Regions from separate parts of the Homo sapiens genome. Here region 1 is linked to region 2. The links are contacts of gene promoters, found by promoter capture Hi-C in human tissues and cell types (Jung and others, 2019). All regions are on one chromosome and are shown on one strand. Each heading gives the region's core, a stretch centred on a gene start or on the middle of the fragment in contact. The rest is flanking DNA. Distances are from core to core; before and after follow the strand shown. Region 1 has its middle 110 kb from the start of RNF217. Region 2 holds the start of HDDC2 (HD domain containing 2).

Evidence for each region. The method cuts DNA at HindIII sites, captures the fragments that hold promoters and counts their contacts. A contact is called where the count stands out against the background at its distance.
Region 1: a fragment that was not itself captured here is called in contact with the fragment with the promoter of HDDC2 in region 2 in 1 of the 25 tissues and cell types used here (dorsolateral prefrontal cortex).

Annotation. Positions count from the first base shown.
Region 1 is chr6:124,852,275-124,858,137 of GRCh38, forward strand. No RefSeq gene overlaps it. Among named protein-coding and RNA genes, the nearest start is that of RNF217, 110 kb to the right of the region's middle. RefSeq lists a silencer at 4,236-4,436. The HindIII fragment of the contact is 3,311 bases long and covers 1,366-4,676 here.
Region 2 is chr6:125,298,961-125,304,991 of GRCh38, forward strand. It overlaps HDDC2 (HD domain containing 2), which reads right to left and starts at 3,007. Exons shown (of 6, transcript NM_016063.3): 1 at 2,889-3,007; 2 at 1,578-1,699. The coding sequence starts at 2,972. RefSeq lists a silencer at 2,697-3,036 and a cis regulatory region at 4,530-4,710. The HindIII fragment of the contact is 16,583 bases long and covers 1-6,031 here.

The sequences.
Region 1 (5,863 bases), core at 1,771-4,270, 450 kb before region 2:
GTCACATAAGAGGAATGTAATTCTTTCATCATATGTATTTTAATCTGAGGTCTGTTTTCTTTGCATTGCATTTAAAAATATACATAAATTTACAACATGCTAGTTTATTAACACTTTATAGGAAATAGTATGTCTTGTTACTGTACTAATGGTTTGGCAATTAATAAATTGCCCATTTTAGAGAAGATGATGCAACCTACCCCTTTGCAAAAGTCCTAAGTAAAATCTATTAAATTATTTCAGGGTTTACATCTTGATTCCTTACACAGTCTTTGTTGCAACTATTTGACACTGCCATTATAGCTTGAAAGCAGCCATAGACATTATTAGAATGATGGATGTGACTGTGTTTCAATAAAATTAATTTACAAAAACAGGCAACTGACTAGACTGAGCCCATAGGCTGCAGTTTGTCAACTCCTAAGCGACTAAAAATATGCCAGAAGTGGAAACTATGGTGCCGTGATGTTGTCTATACTGAGATAGAAGCACAATTTTTTTTGTAAATGCAGAAAACATCCTCTTTTTTGTCTCCTAAAGTCTCTGGTTGTTGCATATTTTATTTTAAATATAACCATGTACCGAAGTCTGAAAAATTAAGAGTTCAAATGAACAGGCAGAGAAAAATATATGCTGTGACCCTCAGATCAAACAGCTTTCATATATTCATTAATATATCTTAAACATCTTTATGGGTTACCAATGATGCATAAGGAGCTGTGCTGGGTACTGTAAGAAACCCAAAGATGGGTAATATTCAGTCCCTTTCATCAGGAAGTTAAGAACCCAGTAGAAAAAATAATACATTCTTACAAATATAGGATGTTAAATACACATAGAAATGTGTCACAGAAGAAAATAAAAATACGTTTTTCTAGATGAGGGAGAAATTACTCTTAGCTGGCTTGAGGAAATGTGGAAGTTTAGGAGAGAGATCACAGCCCCTTTCCTGAAGGAAATAACATTAGGTTACTATGAAAGTAACTGTGTTTTTTGCCATTGAAAGTAATAGCAAGAACCGTAATTACTTTTTGCACCTCATATATGAGACATGTCTCATAGACTTGGATAAATACAAATTTAAAAGACAATCCCAAGGGAAAGGACATAAAAAACAAAGAGTACAACATACATAAAATCCCGGTGGTAAAAAAATAAAGCTATGTGAACAAAAATGAATAATTACTTTTTATAAAAATATAAAGTAATATGCTGAATGTAGATAAGGCCAGAGAGTTAAATGGGAGCAAGACATTATTGGGACTTAAAAGGCATTGGAACAGAATGAATCCAGGTTTGGGCAGGTAGAAGCTCACACAGTGTTTTAAGCCCTACTGAAGAAAAAGAATATATATAAAATTACATATAAAAGTAAACATGTATTCAGAATGAGAAAAGAAGTTACAACAAATCAAAAAGTTTTAAAAGTAGACAAACGCTACAAAAATCACAAGATCCAGAATCGATCTTAACGCTTGGATTATGTTACTATCTGAAATACCCCATTGACTGGCTACACTCTTCGATCATATTGCCACATGACAAAGACTATAACTCAGCCGCCTTTCCTCTAGCACAGCTGACCAACATGTTTTAATGATAGTATATAAAAGTGTCTTTCGGCTTCACAAAACATTGTTGATGATGGTAAATTTTTAGGAATACTGTCAAATTTGGGAAAGTGTTTATATTGCGAGATTTCAGGGCATTTCCAATTATCTTACTCAGTGACTAATTGTAAATATTTCTTAAATTGATGAAAAATTTGTCATTAATGTCCTCATATAGTGGCATATCATTCGTTTTATGCTATCTTTCTTGAAGGAAGTAATATGTGTCAAGAATTTAAATCTTTTTCCAGTGTGTTCAGATGATTCATGCCTCATGGGTAATCAGGTTAGTAAACAATTCAGGAACCTACTCATTATTTCTATTTGTAGAGCATGTGTCTTCTTTTTGATGAACTTAAAGGGAAGCAATCTCATAAGATGAGGAAACCTGAGGTGTGGCAATATCTATGGACCACTAAAATAATACTTTGAAAAATTTTAATTATGAATTATGTATTTCTACAGTTTGGAAACCTCATTACTTATTTCAGTAATTAAAGGTACTAGTGGAAATAGTTAAATTATTTTAAATGTTCAAAAATATATAACCAAAGAACACACCATCTTAGGAGGTCATAAAATTAATAATTCCTCCTGATGAAACAATTTATTATGATACATTTCTAGTGCCATCTAGTGTTTAAAAGAGTATATATGAATTTCTCAAAGACTATAGGCAAAATAAGTAAACAATTTAGTTTTAATTTTTATCAACATACATTCTTTGATTCTACATCTCAGTGATACCATCTAAGATTTTATATTAAAAATTGACAACAAAATAATTTTAAGCCCACAGAGCTTTTAGAAATTAATTAAATTCTTATGCAATAAAAGGAATTAATTCTGTCACTATGCTGAAAAAAGACAAGTCAGGACTTCAAGCTACTATAAGACAGAGAGACTAGTTCTCATTGAAATGTCTAATCCGATAGATATTTTCAATAGAGTCTTAGGTCAAGAAGAATATTTTTGGTTAAATCAAGATGAATTTAAGCTGTGTAAGTGATATCTTTTTAAACCATTATGACTAACTTTATAGCTCTACTAAAGGCAAAAGGTTTTATTTAACAAATCAGTCAGTTTACTGTTGCTGTCACCAAATCCAGATATTTAAGTATCTCAATTTTATCAAAATAACATAGCTTCCTTGATTTTACTATTTGTATCCTATAAAAACAATATTACATTAACAAACAAAAGCTTATCTAACCATTTTTTATTGTTATGTGCAAAACCTAAAACTAGAAATTTAAAAACTTCTGCAAATTCAACATGAGAAATAGGCAACAGACTTGTTTTCTTTATCCTCCTTTTACTATTAATTCACTGACAATATAAAACAGCTGATTTAGATATCATTAAACTCATATTGCTCTTCTATTCTGAGGTTTTAGACTGAGAAACAAAGTCAAAACAAATTACAAATTCAAAAACCAAATGCATACTGCAAATATCATAAGATGAGACACAACCAAAAAAGAGAATTTTAGACCAATATCCTTGATGAATGTTGATGCAAAAATCCTCAATAAAATACTGGCAAACCAAATCTAGCAGCACATCAAAAAGCTTATCCACCACGATCAAGTGGGCTTCATCCCTGGGATACAAGGCTGGTTCAATATACGCAAATCAATAAATGTAATCCAGCATATAAACAGAACCAAAGACAAAAACCACATGATTATCTCAATAGATGCAGAAAAGGCCTTTGACAAAATTCAACAACCCTTCATGCTAAAAACTCTCAATAAATTAGGTATTGATGGGATGTATCTCAAAATAATAAGAGCTATCTATGACAAACCCACAGCCAATATCATACTGATTGGGCAAAAACTGGAAGCATTCCCTTTGAAAGCTGGCACAAGACAGGGATGCCCTCTCTCACCACTCCTATTCAACACAGTGTTGGAAGTTCTGGCCAGGGCAATTAGGCAGGAGAAGGAAATAAATGGTATTCAATTAGGAAAAGAGGAAGTCAAATTGTCCCTGTTTGCAGACGACATGATTGTATATCTAGAAAACCCCATTGTCTCAGCCCAAAATCTCCTTAAGCTGATAAGCAACTTCAGCAAAGTCTCAGGATACAAAATCAATGTGCAAAAATCACAAGCATTCTTATACACCAATAACAGACAAACAGAGAGCCAAATCATGAGTGAACTCCCATTCACAATTGCTTCAAAGAGAATAAAATACCTAGGAATCCACCTTACAAGGGACATGAAGGACCTCTTCAAGGAGAACTACAAACCACTGCTCAATGAAATTAAAGAGGATACAAAGAAATGGAAGAACATTCCATGCTCATGGATAGAAAGAATCAATATGGTGAAAATGGCCATACTGCCCACGGTAATTTATAGATTCAATGCATCCCCATCAAGCTACCAATGACTTTCTTCACGGATTTGGAAAAAACTACTTTAAAGTTCATATGGAACCAAAAAAGAGCCTGCATCGCCAAGTCAATCCTAAGCCAAAAGAACAAAGCTGGAGGCATCACGCTACCTGACTTCAAACTATACTACAAGGCTATAGTAACCAAAAATATCATAATGTTTTTATATGTTTTTAACCTAGGTTTACTTTTTAAAACTCAGAGTAACAAACCACTCCCTTCAGCTCACATAGGCATTTGTAACAACACAGCAATGCCACGCAAAGATTACTCTCACTTCACACTGATGAAATGGAATGGTCCGTTTTATACGTCATCTTGACTGGGCTAAGGAATGCCCAGACAGCTGGCAAAATACGATTTCGGGGTGTGTCTGTGAGGGTATTTCTGAAAGAGATTACCATATGAATCAGTAGATTTATTAAAGAAGATTTACCCTCATCAATGTGGGCCAGCATCATCAAATTCACTGAGTGCCCAAATAGCACAAAAAGGCAGAAGAAGGGTGAATTTGCCTTTTGCTGCAGCTGGGACATCCATCTTCTCCCATCTGGGGTACATTGATGCTCCTGTTTCTGGGGCCTTTGGGCTTGAACTGGAATTACACCACCAGCTTTCCTGGGCCTCCAGCTTACTGATGGCAGGTCCTGAGACTCCTCAGCCTCCATAGTTGTGTGAGCCCATTCTTCAAAATAAATATCTTTCTATATGTCTATACATATACTATTGACCCTGTTTCTTTGGAAAACCCTGACCACTACAATTGGTGCTTCTAAACCCAGGTGGATGCACAATGTTCAGTCCTCAGGAGACTCATCCACACAGCCACCACCTCTCAGTTGCCCTGTTTCTGCAGGGGCAATGTTAATTACACTCAGACTGGTCAGTCTAGTCCAGGCTTACAAGGGCCAGGAGCACTGTACCAGGCATCATAGGACTACATTTCTAGGACTACATTTCCAGGACTACCAGGAAGTCATGGAAGTATTTGATAAGTTCATTCATTCAAGAAGTTTTCAATCAACAGTTTGGCAGTACTGAGCTCCAGTCAACCCCAGAGGAGGAGAACAGGGGGTGCAAGGCAGGCAAGTTGTGCTTGGCTAGACAGTCCCTAATTAAAACTGCTAGCAATAGCAGCAGTAGAGATGTGTGAGTATATGTGAGGAACTGTGTATGTGAAGTGACAAGCAATGCAGCTAAGCCTCTCTAATAGCCCAATGGAGTATATTTTGCTGTGAGACCATCTTTGATCCATAAGCACACATCTTACCTCTCACGTGGCAGGCTCTCAACTACTTTGCTTTACCTGCTAGGTACTAAATAAAAATACTCTGAATGAGGTCTCCCTTTAAAAAAAAAAAAAAAAAAAAAAAAAAGCTACTGCAAATGAGAAAAATTTTCTGTATCTAGAGAGGGAGTAATTTTTACCTTGTTAGTTTCTGATTAATGCAGTTGCTGTTAAATTCCACCTGCTGATTAGAGTTGCAACGTTAAAAAAGCTCCCAGAAATAGTTCTTGAATTATTCATCTTTAACCCTAAAATGTATTCTGGTTACAACAGTGGATAGTTAAATCTGGGCTGACAATTCTTACTTATACTCAATTTGAACACTAATCCTCAAGCGGAATATAGAAACGACAAACAAGAAAGAGTCATAAATTTGACCTGTCATTGTGTTTGCTCACTATTTTTTCCTTTAAACAACACATTACAAATTGCTTCAGATGTGATATAATCTTATTACATAACAAAAAGTTTTATCATTGGAACATTTTTAAACTGAATTTTTTTATTTTTCAAAAAATAAATTTATAGGAAAGCCACATATGAATTATATATTTTATT
Region 2 (6,031 bases), core at 1,757-4,256:
ATATTCTGCCAGCCTACAACAGTTCTGATCAAAACTGTTAGTTCATATTCAATAAAATACATGTGAGTATAGGGGAAATTGTTAGCATTAATTTTTTTTCTTAAATGGTTTATCTCTGAAATCTCACTTTAAAAGGCTAATAGGCCAGGTGCGGTGGCTCACGCCTGTCATACCAGCACTTTGGGAGGCCGAGGTGGCGGATCACCTGAGGTCAGGAGTTCGAGACCAGCCTAGCAACATGGTGAAACCCCATCTCTACTAAAAATACAAAAATTAGCTGGGTGTGGTGGCACACACCTGTAATCCCAGCTACTCAGGAGGCTCAGGCAGGAGAATCATTTGAATCTGGGAGGTGGAGGTTGTAGTTGGCTGACACTGCACCACTGCACTCCAGCCTGGGCGACAGAGTGAGACTGTCTCAACAAAAAAAAACGAGATTACATTTGACAACTTTCATGTTCCTGACACATGTGAATCATTCAATAAGTGGTTATGATTATTAGCGGTTAAGGAATAGTGGTTGTGATAATTCATCATCAAAACAGGAAGTCAAGTAATGAGATAAATGCCCCATAGGGCCAGTATGTTTTAGGCTCCCCACACTACCAAGGCAGTACAAGGCCCAACAGTGTCCTCTGAGATTTCCCTGCCTCTAGTCTCTTTCTGGTCCAGTTCAAATCCCAGACTACTCCAAACTGCATCTCTATTGGACTTCATTTTCACCTTGTACCATTTGCCAAAAACCTCCTCAGTTCCACTTCATCTGCTGAGTAACAGAGGACTCCTCAGGCTTCCCAAATGAACTCTTTGCTGCAGTCAAGTTGATTAATTTCTCATTTGCAAAATACTCCTTTACTTTCCTACACTCAGGGCTTTGGTTTATCTGCCCTTCTCTCTGCATGCAGTGACTTCTCCTACCTCTCTGGCTACGTTAACCCTTTTGAGCTCAACTCAGATTGCACCTCCTCCATTAAGATCAACCAAGAACAGGTGATCTCCCCTGCTCTTACAATACTTAACATTTTCGACCATAACTTACATTTCACTTCTTACAGAAGCTATTTTGGGCCTGCGTAATTCACTTGGGATTTATTTACTCTCTTACATGCTAGTAAACTTTTGTTCTGTGCTCAAAAAGCATTTTAACACTTGTCGATTAAATGAAGGGGGAGAAGATACCTCTTTCTCAGCTATGTCTTGCACACACAACTCCAAAAGGAAGCCTCACGAATGGATACTACTATCCATAAAAGGCACTAGGAAAGAGCACACAGTGTACTAATACAATGCTAGAATTTTAGACATAACACACTCACCTTCAAGGCCCCAATATCACACTTAAGTTTCCCCTGATACCCTAGGCAGGCTCTATCACTTGCCAACAGAAACCCCAGATTGCAGTTTACAACAACTGAGGCAACATAACCCACATCCTAAATTTGTATGGTTTGCTTCAAATAATTTTTCTTGACCTATAAACTAACCTACAAGGATTTGACATGGGTCTCAGTAGTAAAAACGGGTGCACACCCATAGACCAGAATCTCTCACGAGCATCAAAGTCCAGCTCAGCTTACCGGTCTTTGTTAAGACGGTCATCTTTGATCACCATAGCCATAACTGCCATCCGGTACATGTGATCTGAAACGCTCTCCGGCCTCTGGACATTTCTGTATACCCAGCCAGTTCGTGGGACTCTCTGATAAATATGAAGAAGAAAAAGAAGTTTTAAAGAACAAATATTAACTATCTGCTATGCTCTTCAAGAGATGTCCAGGATATAACACACAGAAGCCGGGTCATAATTTCAGAACCTATTACAAAATGTTTTGCTAAACTAGCTAAAATGATAGACATCTGGAATCAAATGAACTAGAGAGCTCAGAGAATGAAAGGGGTAGAAGACAGAGAGAGATAAGTCACAAAGTCCATTCGTCAAATTATTCTGTTACTGATGTATAATTATGGAACATATGCAAGTCCTTTAAACAAAAACAAAACTGCATTTTTCCGAACAAGAGTTGCGGCTTTTTGCCTTCAAATAATCCTACACAAGCAGAAAACACTGTATTGAAGGGTCTGAACGTGAACGAGTGATAGGCTTCCAAATTCTGAGGCACAAGGGATAAGGGCACTTCTAATTGCTTGATGCTACCAGCCGTGACTCTTCCTTTTATTCACATCATAACTTCATCTTGTGAAACTGCATTTCTTCCTCAGAATTCTACATCTCTAAGGAATGTTATAAATAGTAGTCAGAGTGGCATGAAACGGATAATTTACTTTGAACTTGGGAGAGAGACGGGGAAGACGCACATGATGAAACTCGTGTGTATTACATTAAATCCCGTTTGGGGGGTGGCCGGGAGAAAAGTCTTGTTTCTGGAAGTAACTGTGAGACAGACATAAAAAGCTCCACTTAAAATCTGAGGAGCCGACAGATTCTGTTCTTCCCACCCGTGCTCAGAAGCAGCCGCGCTTTACACACACACACACACACACACGAGTTCTGGGGTCGTGAGCACACACACACACACACACACACACGAGTTCTGGGGTCGTGAGCCCCGGAAAAGCTCAGTGCAGGCAGGGCCAGGCCGGCTGCTCTCCGGGAACTGGCGCGGCTGCAGTGCGGACCTCGCGGCGCCAGGCTCTAGGCTCAGACTCCGGGCCGCCCCAGCTGGCCAGCCTGTCCCGCCGGCTGCTTCCTCCGTCCACCGTCGGCAACGCGCGGCCGCATCCGCAGGACTGGGGCCTTTCCGGAATTCGGCGTGGCGGACGCGGCGCAGGAAGGGCAAAGACCGCCGGCCGAGCGGGGAGGCCGGAAGCTCCGCCGCCCCACAGTCCCGCCCGCTCGGCCGCGGCCTCCCGGCCTGGTGCCCGCTCACCTTGAGCTGCCCTACCAGCCGCAGGAACTGCAGTAGGGACCGAGCCCCGTGGCCCGAGAAGGTCGCAGAGGAGACCGAAGCCATGCGGCCACCGACCCCGGCTGGGCGGAGCAGGCCGCGGCGAAGCTCCTCCCCGTCCTCCTCCTCCTCCCCTTCCCCTTGTCTTTCTTCCCCCTCCTCTTACTCTTCTATCTCTTTCTCCTCCCCCTCTTCTTCTTCCTTCTGCCCCTCTTCCTGCTCCCCCTCTTCCTCCTCCCCTTCCAACTCCTCCTCCTCCTCCCCCACTTCCGCTTTCTCCTCTTCCTCTTCCTCCTGCCCCTCTTCCTCTCTCCCCCTCCTCTTCCTCCTCCTCCTGTTCTTATTCCTCCTCCCCCTCCTCCTCCTGTTCTTATTCCTCCTCCCCCTCCTCCATATTCTCACGGTTTTCTCAGGACCTTCTGTCCAGCCTTCGCCTTCTTGGCCTTGGTGTCCGCTGCTTGGGCATTGCTCCGTCAGTGGCAGACACCTTGCTTGGCACATACTTGACACTCAGTACTCTTTATGAAAAATAAAGCTCTCCTTTCTAAATTTATGAACCTCGTTATTCTTCAGTTGACAGTGTAAAACCATGAAACTGGATGAGGTCACCTGGCAAGAGGGTGTGAATGAAGAAGAAAAGACACCCAAGACCTGAACCCCAACATTTAGGCTTTGTGAGATCAAGAGGGAACAGCCAGTGAGGTAGGAAGAGGATTAGTAGGTAGGATAGTTGTGTCCTGGAAGCCATGTACAAAAATATTTCAAGAAGGAAGGAATATGGTCAACCAAGTCAATGTGAGGACCAAGGTTTGACTTCCAGACTTAGTAAATTCAATATTATTGGTTACCCTGACAAAAGCAGTTTTCAGTGTAGTGGGCCAAGCAGAACCTAGTGAGATAATTCCGAAGAGAATAGGAGCAAGTATTACAGCACATTGGAGATGGGGTTGGGGTGCTGTTAACTAGTGGAGAGATTGTTTCAAAACAGGAGATATTATGTATGTTTACTGATGAAGGGGATCTAGTAGAAAGGGAAACATTGATTATGTAAGAGACAAAGAAGAGAAATATTTGAATGTCGGCCTTGAGTAAGGAAAAATATTCCCATCTGGTGTACAAGATAAAAGATGGGCTTTAGATAGGAATATGGAGAATTCATTCAAATATTGGAGGAGGACAGAGTATAGGGTGACTAATCAGTCGCACATGTGGTCATGGGAGGTTGTAGAAGTTCTCTTCTGATTGCTTCTATTTTCTCACCAAATTAGGAAGCAAAGTATAGGCTGGGATGTTATAATAACAAACAACCTCCTTATTTCCTGTATCTCAGCAGTTTAACACATCAAAGGTTTATTTCTCTCTCATGCTAAGTGTCTATTGTAGATCAGCTAGAGGATGCTGCTTGCTCTAACCTTACTCAGGGAGCTAGGAGGCTTTCTTTGCTCTCTTTTGCCAAAATTGGAAAAAAGAAAAGTGGCACTCTGGCTCTTAAAGCCTGTCTCTGGAAGTGATATATGACCTTTTGTCTACGTATCATTGGTGAAATAAGTAACACTGCCACGTCTAACTTCAAAGGGGGCCTGTGGAGTGCAATCTTGCTAGGCCTCTGGGAAGAAAGGAGGCTAGAATGTTTGTGAATAGAGGAGGAGGCATTTGAGGTTTAAGGAGTGATATAGTTTGGCTCTGTGACCCCACCCAAATATCATGTCAAACTGTAATCCTCAAAGTTGGAGGAGGGGCCTGGTGGGAGGTGATTGGATCATGGTGGCAGACTTCCCCCTTGCAGTTCTTGTGATAGTGAGTGAGTTCTCATGGGATCTGGTTAATGGTGTGTAGCACTTCCCCCCTTTGCTCTCTTTCTCTTCTGCTCTGCCAGGTGAAGACGATGCCTGCTTCCCCTTCACCTTCTACCATGATTGTGAGTTTCTGCAGCCATGCTTCCTGTACAGCCAATGAAATACCTTTTCTTTATAAATTACCTAGTCTTAAGTAGTTCTTTATAGCAATGCAAGAATGGACTAATACAAGGAGAAAGAAGGCATGAAATAATTTTTTTGAAGACTGGTTCAGCAACAAGATTAAATATGACTAAGAACCAAATAAATGCCAAGGACATTGGGGCTTGTATTAAACGTGGTTAGGATAATGACCTGGAAGCCATTTTTATGATGGTAAGTGGTGCTAAATAAAGGAAATATCAAGCCAGGTGTGGTTTGTGCCTTTATCCCAGCTACTTGGGAGGCTTAGATGGGAGGATCACTTGAGCCCAGAAGTTTGAAGCTGCAGTGAGTTATGATCACTCCAGCTTGGGAAACAGAACCTGTCTCTAAAAAATTAAAAATTAAAAAATGGAGGGATCAAGGTTTAAAAAGAAGGATCAAGAATCAGAGGCAAAGTCAGACAGTCCACTGGAGGAACACGAAAGCAAATGACCAAAAAGATCCAGGAGAATAAGGAAGATGAGGATGTTGGATTTGCTGAAGGATGTAGTAAGGGGCTTTCAAGAGATAGGTGCCATGAAGCAATGGGGCTGCAAGCTAGCTGGTGAATGTGCAGTGTAACCCTTACGGTTCCTTCTGAGCAGCCTTGTCTTCTTTTGCCAACAATGCATTGATTTCCTTTGAGCTCCTCCTGATTCATGCAGGCTTGATTTAGTTTCCATGGGTATTTCTGTCTGTATTTGCAACTTTCTTTGCAAAATACACGTGAGTTATCTTAACTTTGTGTAGTGAGCTGTAAAGAATTTCTCCAGTTTCCTAAGTGATCAGAAGTTGGAAGACGTCAAGTTGCTGAAAAATTATGAATTGAGTATAAATAGTTTTTGAGGGACACTATTTAAAGATGATATGGATTTTTGGAGGGGACATTACTATCTAAAAGTAAATTGTTACTGTGAAAACTCAAAATATAGTGCCGACTTCTTGCTTTTGTAAACTGAAGATGTTCATCAGGGTTCGTAACAAGGTTTATTCCTACTATATCATTAAAGACCAAGATGTTTGACTCTAGAAGGTGGAATAGTAGCCTCTTAAGGATATCTAATTTTTCCAGAGCTTGCAAATATTTCTATATTACATGGCAAAGGAGAATGGTAGCAAATGGAATTAACTTTGCTAATCAGCTGA